Linked DNA regions of Homo sapiens: regions 1, 2 and 3 are each linked to region 4. Evidence: promoter capture Hi-C in 16 types of primary human blood cells and fetal thymus (Javierre and others, 2016). All regions are on one chromosome and are shown on one strand. Each heading gives the region's core, a stretch centred on a gene start or on the middle of the fragment in contact. The rest is flanking DNA. Distances are from core to core; before and after follow the strand shown.

Region 1 (5,323 bases), core at 1,427-3,926, 150 kb after region 4:
TTTGGGGAGACTGATTTGAGTAATAACTCTGTCTCCCGCATGACTGATCTCCTGTCAATGAAATGTCTTTACTGCAATACCATTATCTCAGTAAATGGATTTTGTCTGTGCAGTGGGCAAGAAGAACCTGTTGGGTGATTACAGATTTGTCCAGTGCTGTCCAAGGGAGAGAATATAGTCATGGGTTCTTAGTTTCTCTTTCTGGTTGGGCCAGTAAATCCCCTTCCTCATCCCTCTTTTCCGCTTATCACTAGAGACAGAGGTGAAAATCCATGGCTTCAGACTGCTAAAAGCCTAAAACAAAACAAAACAAAACAAAACAGAGCAGCAACAACAGCAAAAACAACAACAAAATAAGGTGGACTGGACCAGCTTAAGCTCATAGACCTTATTTAAGTGGACTCACACTGGATGCAGGCCTCTGACTCGGGCGCATTATGCTCAGCGTGGTGTATTGTTGTGTGTATCTGCAGTGTCTTAGTCTGCTTGGGCTGTCATAACAAACACCACTGGCTGGGGGGCTTAGATGACAGAAATTCATTTTCTCACAGCTCCAGAGGCTGAAGTCCATGATCAAGGTGCCAGCCAATTTGGTTTGATGAGGGCTCTTTTCTTGACTTGCAGACAGCCACCTTTCTTGCTATGTCTTCATGCAGCCTCCTCTCAGTGTGTACATGGAGTGAGGGAGAGGGGGTGAGGAGAGGGAGGGGGAGGAGAGAGGAGGAGGAGGGTGCTTTCTGGTGTTTCCTCCATAAGGACACCAATCCTACTGAATTAAAGCTTCACTTAACCTTAATTATGACCTCAGTTAACCTTAATTACTTCCTTAGAGGCCTCATCTCCAAATATAGACATACTGGGGTTAGGGCTTCAGCATACACATTCTGGAGGGTCAGAAACATTCTGTCCATAACAAGCAATTTGTTCCCTTCATGGTTGAGTTGCAGAGTAGTATTCCATTACATGGATTTGTTGTATGAATATATCTCAACTGGTTTGTTCACCACCTGTTGAAGGACATGAAGTTTGTTTCCAGTTTGGGGCTATTTATTATGAATGAGGAGAACATTTGTATAACAGTCTTTGTGTGGATCTGGATTAACCAACAAAGGGAATAACCTGGAGCACACGAATGAAAACTCCACTGGTGGTGAAGTCTTCAGGAATGGCTCCATCCAGAGGCTCCAGACCGCACTCCATTTCTCTACTATGCTTTCAGCTATATCTTTGTGTATGCGTGAGGCTGACCTTTCCATCCCTTCTTACAGCTCAGTGTTTCTCTTTTGCTTACTCAATCAGCAAACATTTATGGAGCCAGCTCCATGCCAAGCACTGCACTATGAGTGGGAAACAATGGGTGAGTAAGCTCTGTCCTTGCCCTCTTGGAGCATATGGTCTAGTGAGAGACACGGACAGATGGACACATAAGCCCACAAGTGCTATATACAAGCCCACACCTCCAAGTGAGAAGAAGGATTCTGTAAGATGAAAGTCCAGCTACTCGGGAGGCTGAGGCAGGAGAATGGTGTGAACCCGGGAAGGGGAGCTTGCAGTGGGCCGAGAACACGCCACTGCACTCCAGCCTGGGCAACAGAATAAGACTCCATCTCAAAAAAAAAAAAAAAAAAAGATGAAAGGGAGAGATGTCAGTGACTCTCCTCTCTGGGGACAATGGGGTCAGGCCACAGAGTCTTTTGTTGCTTTCAGCTCTGTGTTTTTCTCTGTTGCATCCGTCTTCCTGTAGCGGCCCCAATGAAGTCTCCTAGATGTCAGATGTCCACACAGAGCCTATTTGTTTGCTTCTGATCACAGACTTGTTTGCAAAGCAAGGCTTGTGAAAGCATTTCCAGTCCAACTAGATGATTAAAACCCTGCAGGAGAATTTCATGTCCTTGGGGCTGGGGAACTCAATGTTCCACATTGGTGTTTCTCTCTCCTTAAGGACCTTCCATGCAGCTGCTGGGGCTGGTGGGATGGATTATTTATTGGCCTGATTAAATGTGTCCTTAAGCTATAAAACTGGTGCCAGAGTCTTGGGCCACACTTCCAGCACGAGACTGATTTGTCTCCTGAGGGAAGAGCTCTAAGAATTGTGGCCTGTCTCTCCTCCCACATGATTTCAGGACTGGGAGATTCTGGATAAGCACGAGTGTTCTGCCCCAAAGGGTTTTTACTCAAGGGAGTCTTCATTTTACAACTATTCCATTTATGCCTGATGCACACCAGGCATTGGGCCAGACTCTGGGCACAGCAACAAGCAGGACAGACTCGGTCTCTCCCCAGAGGAGCTCAGAGCCTGGCGGGGGCAGATACCCATGAAACCATCACTCATGTATTACATACGTAAGTATAAACCATGGTGACTGCCACAAAAGAGGGACACAGGGTTTTTAAGTGACCATATCAGGGGGACTAGACTTAGATGAAGTGTCCAGTGACATCTCAACTATGGAGATCTGAAGGATGAGCACAGGAAGGGAGGGGAGGCAATGGAACAGCACATGCAAAGGCACCAAGGGAAGAGGAATCAGGGCACAGTGAGGAGGTGTGAGGAGGTAAGAGGAACAGCATGGGCTGAGCAGAATGAGAACGGGGAAGAGTGGTTCAAAAGGGTAGAGGGCCAGTCACACCAGGCCCTGTGGAGTCTAGAGTTTATTCTTAGAGCCCTGGGGAGCCATGCAGGTGTGAGCAGAAGGTTGGTGTCCCTGCTCTCCTTGACCACCGCATGAGACCTCCCACAGGCAGGCTCTTCCTCTGACCCTTCCTGCTGCAGGGTCTTTCTAAAGCATCTCTTATCCCACCATTCCCAGCCTTAGAACCTTCCAATAACTCTTTACTGTGGATGCAACGTCAAATCTCCTTAGCGAGGGCTTGAGGTCAGAATAGTTGGTCAAGACTTTGAAGAACAAGCAAGTGACTGGGAGTTTGTTGGAAGTCATTGTTTGCTGTCTTTCTTTTCCTTTGAATAATGTAGTGCTATGCACTCCTTTTGGGCAGAAGTCATGATACAACCTTTTCTTATATTCCCAACAGAGGCCAAAACATGGGCAATATTGTCATCCTCATCATCATTATCATCTTCATCATGGGCTCCATTAATTAGGCCAAGCATTTTATACGCTGTATTGGTTAGCTGTTGCTGTGGAACTTAACAGCCTAAAATAGTGATTTATTATCACAACCATTTATTTTGGTCACAATTCTGTGGGTTGGCAGTACAAGTTGGGTTTGGTGGGGTAGTTCTTCTGGTGTTGACTGGCCTCTCTAACATGTCTGTGGTTAACTGTGGGCCAGCAGGCTGCCCCTGCTTCTGGGGATTGATTGACTGTTGGCTGGGTCAGTGGGGATGACTGATTAATATGTCTTCATCCTTCAGGTGAGATTGGGCCTCTTCATATGGTAGTGGCGAGGTCTCAGCATAAGAAGAGATACCTACTCAAAGTGAGAAGGGATAGTTAGTTGGCCACATCGAGTTACAAGGCCATCCATATTGAAGAAAGTGAAGAAAGAGACTCTGCCGCTTGACAGGAAGCAAGGCAAAAGGACATGGATATGGCAGGTTGTGAAAAATTGGGTCACTTTTGAAAACAATCAATTTCACAGGTATTATCTCATTTCCTCAAAAAGACAAAGTCAAAGCTCAGTTTTACAGGTAAAGCAGCTGAGGCACAGAGAAGAAAAGGAGCTTGCTCAAGGAGCTGCTAATAGAGTTGAGATTCAAACCCCGGTGTTTATCACTCTACAGACAACACGTTATTAACCCCTGTGAGTTACTGCCCACTCCACTCACAGACAAAGACCTAAGGAGGTCAGCATCCCAGGAGGCCACTGTCTTTGTCATCATTGCCATCATCATCACCATCATCACATTTATTGAATATCTGTGATGTGCAGATGCTATCAGTGCTTTACATGGATTAATTCATTTATTATAATTCACCCAATGTCCCTATAAGATGTACATTAATGATTTTCCCATGTAACGTGGGTCAGGATTAGAAATTTCATGACGACTTCACTCATTTTGATATTCCCTCTATAGCACAATATCTGGCACATAGGTCATACCCTCTTGCCATATGTTTGCTGAATGAATGAGGGCAGAAGTAGGGGAGTGAACAAGACTCAAGGCAAACAATCATTAGCCCAAAGTCACACAAAGCAGGACTAGATCTCAAGATCCCCCATCTCCTTGCCATGTGGCCCCTGGGCAGCCTTGTTACCTGGATCTGCTGCTGCTCCACTCCCCCAAGGTGGCTGAAAATAGAAAACAAGATTCGGGATGTGCTGTTCGGTCTTCCAGCAGGTGCCCCCAAACCAAACATAGTCCCAGAAACGTAAATCTGAGAATGTTTTGAAACTACCTAGCACAGTGGAGAGAGCACTGGGCTCAGAGTCTGAAGACCCATGTGTGCCACCCTTGGTTGATGTGTGATCCTGGATGGGTCACTTGGAGAAGACCAGACTTTCCTCATCAGAAATCCAGGGCTTCAGATTTTACATCCTGTTTACATTCCAGGACTGTGCGGGAGATAAGAGGAGCTCACAGATGCAAACTCTCCGTGAAGCTTGTACTTGACTCAACTCATGGACCTCTCCGGGTTTGCTCAGCTCCACTGGTTGCACCCCCACCAACACCCCCAGCCTCACTTACTTGCTCAGGGGAGCACAGGCCCCACACCAGCTCATCTCCTAATTGCCACGGGCTCCACCTCCCACGGGGCAACGTCTGCACCTAGGCCTGGCCTCTTACCTTCCGTGGAACCACAGCAACTCTGGTGCCCTGGTCCAACCTGACTGGTCATGCAGAGGCTCTGGCTTGTCTCACTGTTTCTAGACCCAGATGAAGCACTCTGCCCTGAGATGTAGCATGTGGCTTCCCCAGCAGCTGTCTGAAGGGGCCACAACACTTTCAGGGGAGTTAAGGCCCGTAGGGTCAATTTGGACCAGTGAAAGACAGATGATGGAAAATCACCAGGAGATGCCTCTTTCTTCCTCTGCTAGTCTTGGCTCTCTGGAGATGTTACATGGCTGAGTGACCTGGTGTGCTTTGCTCTGAAGCTGTGACATGCTCAATCATGCACCACCCTGTGTTTTCTTTCTCTCCTTCCCTGCTTCACTTCCCGTCTTCCCTCAGTCTTCCCCCAGCTCACACCCTGGAATGACACACAGGTACCTGAGCTTCACTGGAGAATCTGTGGGTTAGGTAACCTAGTCGAAGATAAAGAGAAGAATTTGAGAAAGTTGTCAATTTGCAACCACTCAAAAAATCAGAAGAAGACTGTATCTACTGCTGGCAAGGATATGGAGCAACCGGAATGCT
Region 2 (5,351 bases), core at 2,497-4,996, 220 kb after region 4:
CATTTAAGGTATCATTTGTAAGCTTAGTTGAGCTGAAAAAGGATAAATTTTGCCAATTAAACTATGACACAATTCTTTTTTTATCACATCACCTGTAAGATGCAATCAGATTTTTAAGATGCTAAAATTTAAGAAAAAGTGCATCTTAGTACTTATGATTGTGTCCATGTTAAGAAAACAATAACCACTAAACAATAGTTAATAAATGAAATTCCTAAAGGGGAAAAAATGCAGATTTTAAAAAATGCTATTCTTTCTTGGAGAAATAAGCCAGCAAAAATACATAAATAAATAAGTAAAAATTTTAAAAAAAGAAAAAAATGCTAAATGTTTACACTCAGAAGGAGAAAGAACACTAGCAAAGGAGTCAGGTGTGGTCAGAGAGAGGAGGAAAGCCAGGATAAAGCAGAACTACAAAATCCAGTGAAGGCTAACAGTTTAACAGTGACAACGTGCCTGTCACTATCTGAAGGCTTTTCATGTAGCCCTCAATGAATCCTCCACAGTTGTATGAAGTGGGTCCTATCATTACTCCCATTTTACAGACAAGGAAACATATCCACAGACAGGTTAGGTGAGCTGGCTCAATTAAAAAGGTGGTAAGCAAGGGAGTCAAAATTTGAATCCATGTAGTCTTGTACTCTGAGCCCACATTTTAACCACTATGCCCTGGCAGGGTCAGAAACTGTCTTTCCAAATCTTAAAGACCTTTCTTTCTGCTACGGCCTGGCATAGTGGCTCCCACCTGTAATTCCAGCACTTTGGGAGGCCAGGAGTTCGAGACCAGCCTGGCCAACATGGTGAAACCTGTCTTTACTAAAAACACAAAAATTAGCTGGGCGTGGTGGCACATGCCTGTAATCCCAGCTACTTTGGAGGCTGAGGCACGAGAATTGCTTGAACCTGGGAGGCGGAGGCTGCAGTGAGCTGAGACTGACATTGCACTCCAGCCTGGGTGACACAGTCAGACTGTCTTTAAAAAAAAAAAAAGACCTTTCTGACAAGATCACTGGTGATAACTAATAAATGTGATTTTTTTTAAACACTGAAGAAATAAAATGAATCTGCATAGCCCAGTGAACTACTATTTTCTAAAGAACCAGTGCCTGATGTAACCAAATCATGCATGAGTAAGAGATCCATTTGAGGTGCAAGGCAGATTAATGAATTTTCACCTAACAAGAGTACGAAAAGTTTACTGTTACCGTTTCAGATTCCAGATGGCAAATAATCTTTGACTGACTACCACTTGTTCAGTTTGGGTGTAGTATCAAAGGTAGAACATTCACAAAACAAACTCCTTCCTTTCCAACTACCTATCTGTGTGGTCAGATTTGCTTCAATTACAACAACAACTCATGATAGATTTAACGCAGAAAAAAGATATGAGAATCTTCTAGCTGTTATCGATTAAGCGGGGCATTAAAGAGATTTGCAAAAATGTAAAACAAAGACATTCCTCATTAAAATTTTGTTTTAGAAAATAGTTATTGTTCATAAAAATGTTACTTACAGTAACACGTGATAGGTTTTTTTTTGTTTTGTTTTGTTTTGTTTTGAGACAGAGTCTTACTCTGTCCCCCAGGCTGGAGTACAGTAGCACGATCTCAGCTTACCGCAACCTCTACCTCCCAGGTTCAAGTGATTCTCCTGCCTCAGCCTCCCGAGTAGCTGGGATTGCCAGTGCCTGCCGCCACGGCCGGCTAATATTTTGTATTTTTAGTAGAGACAGGGTTTTGCCATGTTGGCCAGGGTGGTCTCGAACTCCTGACCTCAGGTGATCCACCCGCTTTGGCCTCCCAAAGTGGTGGGATTGCAGGCATGAGCCACTGCACCCAGCCTTTTTTTTTTTGAGACAGCGTTTCACTCTTGTTGACAAGGCTGGAGGGCAATGGCACAATCTCAGCTCACTGCAACCTCCGCCTCCAAGATTCAAGCAGTTCTCCTGCCTCAGCCTCCCAAGTAGCTGGGATTATAGATATATGCCACCACACCCAGCTAATTTTTTGTATTTTTAGCAGAGACAGGGCTTCACCATATTGGTCAGGCTGGTCTCGAACTCCTGACCTCAGGTGATCCACCTGCCTCAGCCTCCCAAAGTGCTAGGATTACAGGTGTGAGCCACCATGCCTGGCCAGGTTTTTTTTTTTTTTGAGACGGAGTCTCGCTCTGTCGCCCAGGCTGGAGTGCAGTGGCGGGATCTCGGCTCACTGCAAGCTCCGCCTCCCGGGTTCACGCCATTCTCCTGCCTCAGCCTCCCAAGTAGCTGGGACTACAGGCGCCCGCCACTACGCCCGGCTAATTTTTTGTATTTTTAGTAGAGACGGGGTTTCACCGTTTTTTTAGCCGGGATGGTCTCGATCTCCTGACCTCGTGATCCGCCCGCCTCGGCCTCCCAAAGTGCTGGGATTACAGGCGTGAGCCACCGCGCCCGGCCCAGGTTTTTTTAATGAATAAATATTTAAAAAATTTTTCAGTTTCAGTTTCTAATAAATTAAGTATTAATAGATCAAATCCACAGAAAACGAAAGAACACTGTCCACTATTACTGTTACACACTATTATACATAGCCACCTTGCATTGTTGTATCTCACTGAATCTGGGAACCCTATGAGGTAAGTGGTAGTATTCCTGCTCACCAATGAGAACTCAGCTAACTTAATTCCCTTGCCCAAGGTAGCCCAAGTAGGAAGTGGTCAAGCCAGTACTGGCAACAGGGTCTGTCAGATGCCAGAACCCTTGCTTTTAATTGCTATGCTCTACTGAGTCCATAAGTAGGTGTCAAAACATGACAGGCTTCCCATAAATATGGGTTAAGCTGTTCGAGAGAGAACAGCTGATATTTGCAAAGCAATGAATAGAATTGCATGACTTACTTTATATATCTCTTCATATGTTTCTTCATCAATTTCTATAGTAGTCACAGTTTCTTCCACATCTCCCAAGATCATATTTAAATGTTGATCATAAGCCTAAAGTGGGAGGGTACAGAACCAAGAAATTTAATAATCAAATTACAAAAATGATAAAGGCTTAACAATATGCAAATTGCTCAATTACAACTAGGGCATTTGATACTTACATCACAAACTTTTACATGCAAATAAAAAGTAATCCTACAGTACTAATATACTGTTTCTTCACAAGTCACTTCCAATGATTACTTAATTGACCTGATAAAAATATAAAACTGCTTATATTGCCAAAAATAAATTTACTTCAAATCACTTGAAATTATTTTTAAAGTCTCCACCCCACTTGTTATCTAAGGCAGTCACATCATTTATAATATTTAATTATGAAAAACAGCAGATTCATCTTCATCATTTATCAGTAGACATCCTTCAATTTCACCTATAACAATCTGACAAGAAAAATACAGTAAAGAAGATAAAATCCTTTGTTTACTGGTAAGATAATGCCATTGCAGTCTTCTAAAGGCACACAGTAGACCACATGTCGCAGAGAGAAAGTAAGTAGAGCAACACCCTGCCCATTTCTAACCTATCCAGAACTTAAATGTGTTTAGTACCTGTGGGCTCAATCAATAAATGTTACAGCTAAGATATTCAATCCAAGCTCCAAAGTTCATTCATTTTACTAAAAGGTGCACTTTCTGGGACCTTGTTCAGAACTCAAGTTTACTTCTAACAACGTGTTACATGGTTCACCTGCTCACATCAAAATAAAAGTCACTTGTCAGCCATGTGGGGAACTGCTAAGCAGGGCACACTAACAAGATCAAACATGTATAGCTGAGAGGCACAAAACAAACAGAAAGTTGGGGCCATTTAGGATAGAGACCATCAAGTTTACACAGGGAACTGAAGAAGCCTCCAAGAGCCACAAACTTAAGTAATTAAACTCAATTCCATTTGTATTCCCAAAGTTACCACCATTCCTTTCCTGGAGTCTCTCTTCCTTTAAGGCCAGCTGTAGATTGTCTCCCTGGGTCCCTATTTCCTTTCCAAGCCCAGAGGTTCTTTATCTTTAGGTTTTGTGGAAGGCGGAACCACAGTACTTAAGAGTGGGGCTCAGGTCAGACAACCTAGATTCAAATTCTGGCTCTCCCTTTACCGTCAAGTGACTGTACCTTTCTGAGCCTGAGCTTCCTACACTGCAAAGCAGGAATAATTAGTATGTATCATCATAGGGTTGTTATAAAGATTAAATGAGATATCACACACAAAATGCTTAGAATAATAGTACCTGGTCTATAATTAATGCTCAATAAATGTTAGCTATTTTTAATCACTTTAGGGTAGAGTAGCAATACTAAAAACAACACACTTAGGAAAGTAACAAGTCATTAAGGAGAGGCAAAACCTTCAGGGTTCTCTATGAACAAATGGGATTATTTCAAGGGACCAATTCTACAGATATTTTGCAGATATGCACAAAGAAATATGTAAAAAAATGCTTACTGCAAGTATTTACGTATTTGTAGCAAGAAATGAAAAAAAATCGATCACTATCATATACAGAATCCTAGGTAGTCATTAAAAAGAATAAACGAAAATTAAATGCACTCATGATCAATTTCCAAGAAAGATTAAGTGAAAAAAAAAAAAGGTACTGAAAAACATGTATGGCAAGATCCATGTTTTGTAGAGGTAGGGTGTACATAATGCAAGTATGTGCACATGTACATATATGAGTGTATATGTGTAAACATACAGAAAAGGTAACCCAATTTTTAAATTTTATTTTTTGTAGAGACAGGGTCTCTCTATGTTGCCCAGGCTGGCAACACAGAGAACTCCTGGCCTCAAGTGATCCTCCTGCCCCAGTCTCCCAAAGTGCTGAGATTACAGGAATGAGCCACTGCACCTGGCCAAGATAATCCCATTTTTAGTAGTGATTACCAGTAGAAGAAATGGGATTTCACTTTTTACTCTATATATTTTTGTGCTGTTTAACTTTTCCTAATAAAACACATATTTGTGTTTTAAATTTAAAAAACATTTACGAATGGAGGACAAGTAAATATTATTTACAAATAAACAGAAGGGAAAAATGAAGGGAATAAAAATGTTCTATAATAAACGTATTTCTATTAAAAGAAAAAATGTTAAAAATGTGAATACATGCCGCTTTATTTGGCTTATGTGATATGGGTGACTTTCCACCACCCTCTCTTCCTTCAAAATACCCTTTCACTCTGGACAGGTTTTACATTTCAAGGGAGTGGGGGTAGGAAGGAATCTGATTTCAAGGTAACTTGATAAATTTACTTACATGTAATCTGCCTCGAAGCTCTCGGTCATTTCTCATTTTCACATAAATTCGCTCATCTAGGCTGAGCCTGATAAGATCCAGGGGCTCCTCTACAGTGTTGGTAGTTTGTTGC
Region 3 (5,465 bases), core at 288-2,787, 130 kb after region 4:
CTGCTTAAAGTTATTCGTTGCAGTGGTGTTTAGGGTAGCACAAGTTTGGATAGTTAGGTCCCCAACAGGGAACTGGTTAAATAAATTATGCTTTATCTGTACAATGGAAATAAGGGAGTTCTTTACATGATGATAGGGAACTATCTATAAGCTATATTAAAGTAAAAGGCAAGGTGTCTAGACATTAAAGAACAAATTGATAAATTGGACTTCATCAAAATTGAAAATGTTCACTCAGCCAGGCACGGTGTTCATACCTGCAATCCTAACATTTTGGGAGGCGGAGGCAAGAGGATCCCTTGAGGCCAGGAGTTTGAGACCAGCCTGGCCAACACAGGAAGACCCTGTCTCTACAAAAAAATTTTAAAAATTAGCCAAGAGTGATGGCATGCCCCTGTAGTCTCAGCTACTTGGGAGGCTGAGGCAGGAGGATCACTTGAGCCCAGGAGGTCTAGGCTGCAGTGAGCTGTGGTCGTACCAATGCACTGCAGCCTGGTGACAGAGCAAGACCCTGTCTCAAGAAAATAAAAATGTTCACTATGTAAAATCTCTGGATGGAAAGACAAGCCCCAGACTGGGAGGAAGTCTTTGCAGATCTGCAAATAATCCGATCTCTGATGAAGGACTTGTATCTAGAATGTATAAGAACACTCTAAACTCAATAGTAAGAAAACAAACACTTCAATTAGAAAACTGGCAAGAAACACATACAGATACTTCACCAAAGAGGATCTGGGGATGGCAAATCCATAAGCACAAGAAAAGAAGTTCAGCATCACGGGTATCAGGGAGACGCAAATTAAAGCTATGGTGAGATATCACTACCACCTATCAAAATGGCTAATATAAAAAACAGGAACAATGACGAGTGCTAGCAAGGACGCAGGGCAGCTGGAGTCCTCATACTTGCTTCTGGGTATGGCCTCTCTGGAAAGTTCGTTATCAAGTTAAACACACACTTACCATATAACCTGGCAATTATTACTTCTGGGTATTTATCCCTGAAAAATGAAGACAGGTTTATGCAAAAACTTTTATATGAACATTTATCACAGCTTTATTTATAACAGCCAAAAGTTGGACACAGCACAAATGTCCTTCAGCAGGTGAGTGAATAAACAAACTGTGGGACACCCATGAAATGGAAGACTGCACAATAATAAAAGGGAATGGACTATTGATAAGCACAGCAACTTGAGTTGATCTTCAGGGCACTATGCTGAGCAAAACATGCCAATCTCAAAAGGTTATATACTATATAATTCCATTTATGTAACATTGTCACAGTGACATAATTATAGTAATGGGGAACAGATCAGTGGTTGCTAGGGATAGGGTTGGGGGAAGGTGCAATTCTACAGTGTTAACATGAGGGCATTTCTTTGCGGTGCTTGGAATAGTTCTACAGCCTGATGGCTACAAAATCTATCTACATGGGAAAGTTTCAGAGAATTATGCACCAGAAAACAAAAACAAACAAAACAATTATTACATGTAAAAACTGGTAACATCCAAATAAGGTCTGACTTAGTAATACTGTACCCATGTCAATTTCCCGGTTTGACAATGTAGCATGATTATGTAAGATGTTAGCACTAGGGGAGCTGGGAGAAGCTGGGTGAAAGGTGCATGGGAACTCTGTACTATTTTTGCAACTTCATGTGGGTCTTAAACTGTTGCAAACTAAAAATTTTTAAAGTAGAAATGGTTTGGGACTGTTTCGCTCAATTTGATTTTTTTTTCTTGCTGTAAAAAATAATAGCAAGGTGAAGAAGGTATGTAGAGAATACCATTTGTGTGAAAGATAAATGCAGGAGTCATCCTGTGTATGATAGAATATCTCTGGAAAGATACAGAAGGAACTGGGAATACTGGAGCCACATGAGATGCAACCGAAAATGCACAAGGATGAGAAAGAAAGCCTGATTTTCCAGTTTTCCTCTGAGAATTTTGACTTTTTTACTGCAGGTGTCTACCACTGTCTTAGTTTGTTCTTGCTGCTATAACAAAATGCCATAGATTGGGTGGTTTTATAAACAAAGAAATTTATTTCTCACAGTTCTGGGGCTGGAAAGTTCAAGGCCAAGGTGCCAGCAGACTTGGTGCCTAGGGAGAGCCTGCTGTCTTATTCATAGATGGTGCCTTCTTGCTGTGTCCTCACATGGTGGGAAGGGCAAGGGAGCTCTCTGGGGCCTCTTGTATAAGGGCACTAATCCCATTCATGAGGGTCCCACCCTCATGACCTCCTCACCTCCCAAAGTTTCCACCTCCCAACACCATCACCTTGGGGATGAGGGTTGCAACACATGGATTTGGCATTCAGACCATAGCAATCTCCATGTAAATTTTTAAATTTAATTGTCTTAAAAACTAAGAGTAGGACCCAAGGCAGTGGGGGAACTGTGGAGCCATCAGTTTGGCTCTGAGATCCTTGAAGGGTCAGCTCAGTAAGGAGAGGGAAAGTAGCCTAGGGACAAGGATTTTATCAGGAAGTCAATATTTTGTTAAGCTCAAGGGAGGCTCTACACACACACACACACACACACACACACACACACACAATTAATGGGGCAGGGAGGGCACTGGGCTGAGGTTGGCCAGGCCTGGGAATTGACGTCTTCTTCACCTGTGTTATAACAACAGCAACAAGGGGTAGGCATCACAGCCTCCACAACCGTGGACACTCACCGCAGGCCAGGCACTCAGCCAAGCACCTCTCAGGGGTTAACTCACGTTATCCTCTCAACAATGTCACTGTACAGAGGAGGAAGCTGAGGCACAGAGAGGCAAAGAGACTTGCCCAAGGCCCTACCTGACTTTGTAGCCCTCTAACACCTCAGGCCTCCTGACCAGCCCCAGGCCCTGGACGCTGAGGTGACAGGACACAGGGGTGGAGCAGCAGGATGGGCGGATGACAAATGTCTTGAGCACTTGCTTGGCCTCGGGCACAGACTCACTCATGGATCCTGCTGGGGAAGGGCAGGCAGACAGCACACAGGGCCACCCAATGGCAAAGATGACTGTCAAAGAGGCAGATGTGAGCAGCCCTGGGCTGGGGCAGGGGAGGCGGGAGTGATCTAGTGAGCTGGGAAAGGCTGGGGCTTAGAGGCAGGTATTCCCGGGTAGACCCCAGCTCCCACCTTGGCAGATGGCTCCTGTCTCTACTTGCCTTCTGATTCCTTCTTTAAAATGAGGAGCATTGCAACACCTGCTCCCGACCCAGGCTGCTGCCAGGCTCCAGGGCTCAGGCAGGGGACAGCAGGAGCTGCAGAAAGCCAGCTGGCTTCAAAACCTGAGAACGGCCCAGACCCCTGTCAGCAGGTGTCAGGGGAACTTGTGACACACCCATGCACGGAATATCATGTAGCTAGGAACAAGAGCAATTACAGTCACACGCAGCGTGGGATCTCCAAGAGTGATGAGCAAAAGAAACCAGGGAAGGAAAAGTACAGACTGGACCACCTCATTTACATGGAGTTTCAACTAGGCAAAACTCACCTATGGTGTTAAAAATCAGGATCGCGGGGACCTCTGGGGAAGAGGCAGAGAGGCTTTGGGGGACGGTGGGCACAGATGTGCTCACTTTCGACAACTCTTCAAGGGGCTGGGAAGTGGTGACCCGAGACAGGGCCTCACTGACCCCCAGTTTCCTCCTCTGGGAAGAAGATTTCACAAATGGCCCTGCCTGTTGAGGGTGTCGCGAGGGTCAGATGATGGCAGGTGACTTGTGGGTGTGGAGATGCCCCATGAGAGGCCACCATGGAAATGGTGGGTCACGAATTTTTGAAGCAGAGGCCTCTGGTGGGAAGAGCTCCCAAGAGAGAGCCCCGTGTCCTCTTCTATCCACTGCCCCTGCCTCCACGGCTGGAGGCCCTGGGCAGCCCTGGTGTGCGTGGGACCTAGGGGCCTCTGCCAGCTGCCCCAGCTTCCCTGGGCCCGGCTCCCAGAACTCTCAACCAGCAAAGCCCATCCAGCCTGAGCTAGGGAAGGATTCAGGGTGGAAATCCAGAGCCGGGGGCTGAGAGGGAGGCATCTCGGGCAGGGTGGCCAAAGGCTGGGGTGGGCAGAAGCCAGTGCAACGGTAGCCTTCCTCCCTCCACTCCTCAAAGCCCCAGCAACACTGCATCTCCACTGTGTTTCCTGGGACAAGCCACGGGGCCTCGCTGATCCTCAGCCTTCTCATCCATCAGGGGTCTGTTGTGGGGGTTAAATGAGATAATCAACTATTGGTGCTGAGTAAACAGCAGCTGCAATTGTCATTTTTACTGCTATCTCATTGTGGGGAAGGCTGTCTAGGGCATAGAGATGGAGAGGCTGTGAGGGTCCAGAAGAAAGCTTAGATTCATACACTACCCTTGTATACACTTTGCAAGTGAGGAATGCAAAACCCAAGGTCAGAGGCAATTAGGCCAGGGAGCCAGGGGGGCCCCCCAAGGCCCAGCCTCCTCAGTCCCTGTACTGACATTCTCACGTGGACTGCTTCCCACATGGCCACTCTGGAAGATGTACAGAAGGCAGAGAGGCTGCGGGCCAGCCTGGAGGCGGGTGGGAGATTCCCTGGGAGAGTGCATGCGCACACACACATGCACACACACTCGCCACGGTGGGAATCCCACGTTAGTCATTCTGTTTTAGGACTGGGAGCGTAATATGGAGCCGGCTTGCGCTGGAAGAGTGGGAGACGCAGATGCACCCTCTAGAACTGCCAGAGGCTTCTGCATGACTCAGAAAACTGGAAGAGGCCCCGCTCACCACTGACTTCAACTCTTCATTTGGAAAATCTGTTCTTTTTACTTATGAAATATTTCAGACATATAGAAAAGTACAGAAAGTAATGTAACAAACACCTGTGGATTTCTCACTTGGCTCCAGTTCTTTATTTTAATTAATTCATTTTATTATTTTTTTTTAGAGACAGGGTCTCGCTCTGTTGCCCAGGATGGAGTGCAGTGGTGTAATTACAATTTGCTCCAGGTTCAAGCTCCTGGGCTCAAGCGATCCTTCTGCCTCAGTCTCTCAAGTAGCTGGGATGTCAAGTGCATGCCATCATACCTGGCTAGTTTATTTTTAATTTTTAGACGCAGGGTCTCATTATGTTGCCCAGGCTAGTCTCCAACTGGCCTCAAGCAATCCTCCTGCCTTGGCCTCCTGAGTCCCTGGGATTACAGATGTCTGCTACCACAACTAGCTCCAGCTCCAGTTCTAACAGGTTGCTGGTCCTGCTCCTCCTCCTTCACTGATCATTTTCGGGATATAGTCAGAGCCCTCAGGCAGCCCTCTCTGATTGCATTTCTGTCTTTGTCTCCCTCCCGAGGGAATTAACTCCTTGCATCTGGAGTTTACCTTCCCATATTTGTTTTCACACATACATCTGTATCTATAAACATTGGTTTTGTTTGCTCTCAAACTTAATGGGACTATGCTGGATGAGTCACCCTTCAGCTTATCGTTTTGACTCAACATCA
Region 4 (5,777 bases), core at 2,904-5,403:
TGCTTTCCCTCTCGTAACCCTAACTCCCACCCTTGGCATCAGCCTCTGCCCAGGTTTCCAAATGAAGCCTCTGACCAGGTAAGGCAGGAAAGGAAACTCCGCAGACCTGTCCAGGACTGGCATAACTCACCTAGAGACACTAGGGCTGTGTGCTCCAGGGAGGTCAAAGCCAGCAAGTTAATGGCCTGTGTACCGGTTAAATAGCATGTCCAGGCCTTCACCCCCATGTTTACAGAAAGAGTTCAGGGCAAGACTCATTGGTACAGAAAATGCTTAGTGGCTCGGTGACTCTCCGTCTCCTGGACCCCAGTTCCGTTCCTTACTCACCATCAGGGTTCTCCTGGGCTCCAGGCTTGACTGGCTTCTGCCCCACTATCCTTAAACCCAGTATGACTCCTGCTGCCATCAGGAGAAAGCCCAAACCCACTTACACAGCATTCAAGGCCCTCCGGCTGGCACGGTGGCTCACACCTATAATCAACACTTGGGAGGCTGAGGCGAGAAGATTGCCTGAGCCCAGGAGCTTGAGACCATCCTGGGCAACATAGTAAGACCCTGTCTCTATTTTTATATGTGAAAAAATAAAACGCCCCCCTCCCCACCATCTGGCTCCTATTCCTCTCTCCAGCTAGGACCCGGGGAACCTGTTCTACAAACATGCTTGGCTATTTCACGCCACTGTGCCCTTGTGGCTACTCTGCCCCCTGTGGAGAATGCCAGCCCATCCTGTTTCTCCACCCACAGACAATGGCAACTCCGACACTGTGTCCTCTAGGAAGCGAAAGTGCCTCCTGCCCACTACCCCACCCTCACTGCACACTCAGCTGCTCCTTGGGTCTTCTTCACTGTATCCTACGGATGGTAATGGCCATTGCAGTTACCACATGCTTCTACCTCTGGGACAGGAGCTCCTAGAAAGCCAACACTCTACCTTGAACCCAGTGCCAGCCCAGAGCTGACCTTAACCAAGGTCTATTAATCAACTAAATGAAGCACATTAAAAAAGCGCTCTCATTCTCACTTGAAGGCTTCCTTAGGCATTTCCAGATCCACAGCTCCTGCCCAGAACCCATAAATTCAAACGAACGCTCTGGCCAAGTTGGCAAACACAGGAAAATGAGATGCAGCCCCAAAGAATCTGACTCTTGCTCATGACCTTCTGCAGAAGTGGGGAATCAGCATGTACCTGCCAGGGTGGCCCTGGGATTTCAGGCCAACCCCAATTCCCAGGCAGACCCCCTCTGGCTGCAGCTAAGCTGCATTCTGGGGAGCCCTTATAATTTACTTCTCAGCTTTTTCTATATACGGGAATGTGTTCAATGACTCACAAGTTTCTTATCATTCAGGACTTTTGGAAAGACTTTCAGAGAAGTACACCTCCCAAATCCTTTGACAAACTGACAGGCGGACAAGTTCAGGTTAGAAAACAGAGTCCCCAGAGCCCGGACTGCCTTGTGGAGGGCTGACCCCTGCAGCAGAATGGGTAGCAGGGCTCAGGGGAAGGCACAAGGAAGGGAGAATGAGTAACTAGGGACAGAAGCAAGGTGCAAATGGGTCCCATAGGCTCACTTTCCTGCCCTAAGGACTGGGACACCTTTGTTCCTCATTTTCCCCAGGCCCCGGTTCAATTTCAACTCCCGAGGATATCAGTGACCAAAGCCCCATGGGGCCAAAACTCACAGCTGAGCTAGGGAAAACCTTTTGAAACTTAATTTTGTCCAGTCAAGGCAAAGTCCCTTAGGTGGCTCTCAGTTTGTCCATCTATAAAATGGGTACTGCTCACCAGGCCTCCAGACTCTGAAAAGCAGATGTGGTCCAATCACCACAGGTTGAGGTGACGGGAAGGAGGCAGGGGAGGATGATTGCAGCTGAGCCATGGGTTAGTACAAGGGTGTCCCCAAAGGACAAAGCCTCCAGAATGCACCTTGGCCCTTGCCATACACCACAGTGACCCAGGACCTCGTGACACCCTCTAATCAGCAGCTCTACAGCCGAGCCCGGCTTTACAGCTTACTACAAGCTTATTCAGCCTCATCTCCCTCAATCCCCTCAAGGACGTAGTGAGGCCGGCACTGGTGTCCTTGCTGCCCAGGCAGCCAAGCCGAGGCTCAAAGAAACCAAGGGAATCAACCAAGGTCACCCACCCATTAAAACAAAGCATAGGACTTAAATCAGTTCCCTGGGGACAAGCTCCTACCTCTGGTCCCTGGTTTACTCTATAACCAGTCTGCCCCACCCATTTTACAGGTAAGGAAACTGAGGCAGAAAAAGGGTTGCCCAAGGTCAACTGGGGGCTGAGCCAGGCCTAACACCTCCCACCATTCTACCAGTCCCACCCTGTTGGGGGTTCTTAGCCGTGCTAGGCCCCCTTTGGATCCTCTCCAACACCATCTTGATGAAATTCCTCCCCCACCCCACCTCCTCATGCCCACCCCACAATCCCTGGGTGACTCCCTGGTCGAGAGGGAGGCAGGTGGTTGCTAAGCACTCACCCGCTCTCTCTCTCATAAAAATAAACTCCTTCTGGCTAGGAGACTCTGGACAAGATCCCCTCCCTTCTAGCCAACAAAAAATTAAAAAGAAATTTTAAAAAGATCTCCTCAGTGACATTTACTTGAACGTCAGCTGTGCCAAAGCGGGGGCCAATTTAGTGAAGTCCAAATGGAGCCATGCGCCAGTAAACCTCAGCCCGAAGACCCTCCATTCAAGTGTCTGGGCAATTACTGAGCTGATTTATTTCCCCAGACAGGAAACGGGGGCCCAGGCTGCCTCCCAAGCTTTTGGGGCTGGTCCTGGGGATGCCGGGATCTGGCAGAGGCCCAACAGTGACCAAAATAGCCAGGCCGGTGGCCCTACCCGGCACACACCTCCCTGCCTGGGAGAGCTGCCCACAGGTCTCCTCTCCAGTCCAGGCTGAAGTCCAGGCTGAAGCTTTGAGGCTGTAGGAGGAGGTCCCTGGAATTCTCTCTGTGTGGCTTCCCTAGTGGGAGGGGGACGAGAATCTCCTACTCAAAAGAGGAACCCACAGAAGGAAGAGAAATAGTCTGGAGGGGGAAGTGTCCTGCTGGCCCTGCCGGCTGTCCACTACCCCTTGGCTGCCCCTCCGGGCCTTGGTCCCACCACTCAGGACTGCTGGACGCTGGCGCTGCCACCTGCACACCACCTATGGAGTGCATGCACCTATGGAGCCACGCTGCCCTATCACCTCTCCCCACTCAGCGCCGGCCCTGGAGAACCAGCTCTGGCCATTGGACCCTCTAGGCACCAGGGACACCCTCTTGGGTACAGCCGAGGACACACGAGTGCCCACAACCAGGGACCTGGAGACACAACCACACTCAGGGACACGCACGTGCACCTAGCCAGGGCCTGGAAGACGCAGCCCCCCACACACAGATTCATGCAGACACAAACGGGGACACACAAGAGCACACATCCAAAGACAGCACACTCAGGTATCACACACAGAGAGGCACACACACACAGCCCAGCACGCAGAGAATAACAGACATGCACCGGAACACACATGTGCACGCTGCTGGGGACACGGTGAAACAGTCACCCTCAGAAACACAGACACAGGGATACGGAGGCACATGTAGGCATCCTGACGGAGACAGGCACACAGATATGCCACACACACACACACACACACACACACACACACACACACACACACACTCTCCTGCCGCCCGCACCAAGAGCCGGAGCCCTTTTGCCGGGGAAACAATAACAGCCCCGCCAGCGGGACTGAGCAGGCGACTCTCGGTCCCTTCCGCGGTGGTGAAAGGGGCGCCGGATGGGCGCACGCGGAGGGGAGGAGGCCGGGACTGCGGCGACGCGGGGATGGGGAGGGGCTGCAGACGGCGGGCAGCGCCGGCTGCGCGCCCAGCTCCCGGTCCCTCCGGTACCTGGGGTGGCTGCGGCGCCGCCCGCGCTCTGCTCGGCTGTGCCGGGTTCCGCCGGCCGGGGGCTGCCTGCCCGCTCGCTCTCTGACCCGCTGGGTGAACGCTCCGCACTCCCTCTTGGCGCAGCTTGTCCTCTGGGCTTGCGGTCCTCGGGGCTCGGCGTTGGCGGCGGCGCGAAGGAAGCGGTAATTTATAAGCGGCTTCTTCCTGACCTCGCGTGTCTGTTGTCTGAGCAGGCAGCTCTCAGCATCACCCATCCTGCTGGGTGGAAAAATACCAGCTCGGCCGGGCCGGGGGCGGGGCCGGGGCGGGGCCGGGGCTTCCAGCCCCGCCCCAAGTGCGGACACACGCGCGCACACATACACATGCACACACATACACGCAAACACGCACGCGCGCATGGGCTCGGACACACAAAGAACCCGGGCTCGCCGAGCGCGCGCGCACACCCTCATGCCGCGCGGCGAACGTTCGTTGCCAGGTGCGGCAGCCCGCCCTGGGCGCCTCCTGCCTGCGGAAGAAGAGCAGGACAGACCCGACCCGACCCGCCTAGTCCTTTCCTTCACAGCAGCCTCCAAACTCCACCGCTCGCCTCTTCCGCCAGGCTCCTAGGATGAGGCCCAGGGCTCCTGGAGCAGCCAGGTGCAAACCAGACCGGGCTCGCACTCCACTGCGTTGCCCTGGGCGATCGTCCACGTTCTGGGAGACTCGGTATGCCCCGGGAGGGTGGCCTGAGCTTGTGGTGTGAAGCCAGGTACAGAGCTCCAGAATCCTGGCCTTGCCATGGCTGTGTGACCCTGGGCAAGTGACTCAATTTCTCTGCCTCAGTGTCCTCATCTATAAAATGGAAAGGAAAATAGTAGCGCTTGTCTCCTCCGGCTGTTATGAAGATCCAAGGTTAACAGCGTAGAGAACTCGGAACGCACCCGGCATCTAGGAAGTGCCAAGCCAGTGTCAGCTAATGTGACTATTTTTAAATGGAGATGGGGAGTGTGCCATTATTCTTGTCCTTATTTGAATGAACGGGCCCTCAGGGACCATTTTCCACTGCCCCGCCCTGGCAGCATGAGAGGGAAACGCTGTGAGAACCCCGAACCCCAGCCTTCTCCTGTCCCTCTCTCTCTCTCTCTCTCTCTGCACCTGGGAGGCGGGGAGGAGAGAGCCGATCCTTCCACCATTTACACGGAGAATGAAAGAAGAAATACCGGCCAGGCGCGGTGGCTCATGCCTGTAATCCCAGCACTTTGGGAGGCCGAGGGGGCAGATCACCTGAGGTCAGGAGTTCGAGACCAGCCTGGCCAACATGGCGAAACTCCGTCTCTACTAAAAGTACAAAAATTAGCCTGGCGTGGTGCCGGGTGCCTATAATCCCAGCTACTCAGGAGGCTGAGGCAGGAGAATCCCTTGAACCCGGGAGGCGGAGGTTGCAGTGAGCCGAGATCACGCCACTGCACTCCAGCCTGGGTGACAAGAATGAGTCTCAAAAAAACAAAAAAGAAGAAGAAGAAGAAATACCACACAGGTCCGACCAAGAGCTGCCCCCACTCAGGCCAGGATCCCTGCCTGGAAGGGCTCTGCAGCCACTCTCCCTGTACAGCCCCAGGATGCTAAGGAGCATCCCGAAGTGACACTGGCTCTCCCTGGAGGCCCCTGCCATCGGACTCCAACCTGACCTTCCAGTGGGTGCTCCTCATACTGGCTCCAGCCAAGACAGACGAGGACCACTGGGCACATGCCCTTCCTTGCCTTCCTGTCACCCTTCCCACCCTTCTCTGCGGGCCCCGGGTGGCCCCTTCCTCCAGGAAGCACCTGGGGATCAGCAGTGCCTCTAGGGTCCCAGTGGCCCACGTGACATCTGCTTCTGGCCAC

Evidence for each region. The method cuts DNA at HindIII sites, captures the fragments that hold promoters and counts their contacts. A CHiCAGO score of 5 or more calls a contact.
Region 1: a contact is called between a fragment that was not itself captured here and the fragment with the promoter of SLC6A6 in region 4, in 2 of 17 cell types (M2 macrophages and neutrophils). The highest score is 5.7, in M2 macrophages.
Region 2: a contact is called between a fragment that was not itself captured here and the fragment with the promoter of SLC6A6 in region 4, in 1 of 17 cell types (erythroblasts). The highest score is 5.6, in erythroblasts.
Region 3: a fragment that was not itself captured here is called in contact with the fragment with the promoter of SLC6A6 in region 4 in 7 of 17 cell types (M2 macrophages, M1 macrophages, M0 macrophages and 4 more); the score reaches 15.0 in M2 macrophages.

What each region holds. Positions count from the first base shown.
Region 1 is chr3:14,245,810-14,251,132 of GRCh38, reverse strand. No RefSeq gene overlaps it. Among named protein-coding and RNA genes, the nearest start is that of LSM3, 70 kb to the right of the region's middle. The HindIII fragment of the contact is 3,788 bases long and covers 783-4,570 here.
Region 2 is chr3:14,181,559-14,186,909 of GRCh38, reverse strand. It overlaps LSM3 (LSM3 homolog, U6 small nuclear RNA and mRNA degradation associated), which reads right to left. Exons shown (of 4, transcript NM_014463.3): 2 at 5,240-5,350; 3 at 2,878-2,973. Among named protein-coding and RNA genes, the nearest start is that of LSM3, 5.4 kb to the right of the region's middle. The HindIII fragment of the contact is 7,444 bases long and covers 25-5,351 here.
Region 3 is chr3:14,265,660-14,271,124 of GRCh38, reverse strand. No RefSeq gene overlaps it. Among named protein-coding and RNA genes, the nearest start is that of LINC01267, 84 kb to the left of the region's middle. RefSeq lists an enhancer at 3,790-4,429. The HindIII fragment of the contact is 5,601 bases long and covers 1-4,337 here.
Region 4 is chr3:14,400,982-14,406,758 of GRCh38, reverse strand. SLC6A6 (solute carrier family 6 member 6) reads right to left here and starts at 4,153. Exons shown (of 15, transcript NM_003043.6): 1 at 3,912-4,153. It overlaps LOC105376959 (a long non-coding RNA gene), which reads left to right and starts at 4,352. Exons shown (of 8, transcript XR_007095825.1): 1 at 4,352-5,777. RefSeq lists silencers at 385-555, 3,830-4,359 and enhancers at 2,970-3,049, 3,120-3,179, 4,500-4,669, 4,680-4,729. The HindIII fragment of the contact is 4,510 bases long and covers 2,934-5,777 here.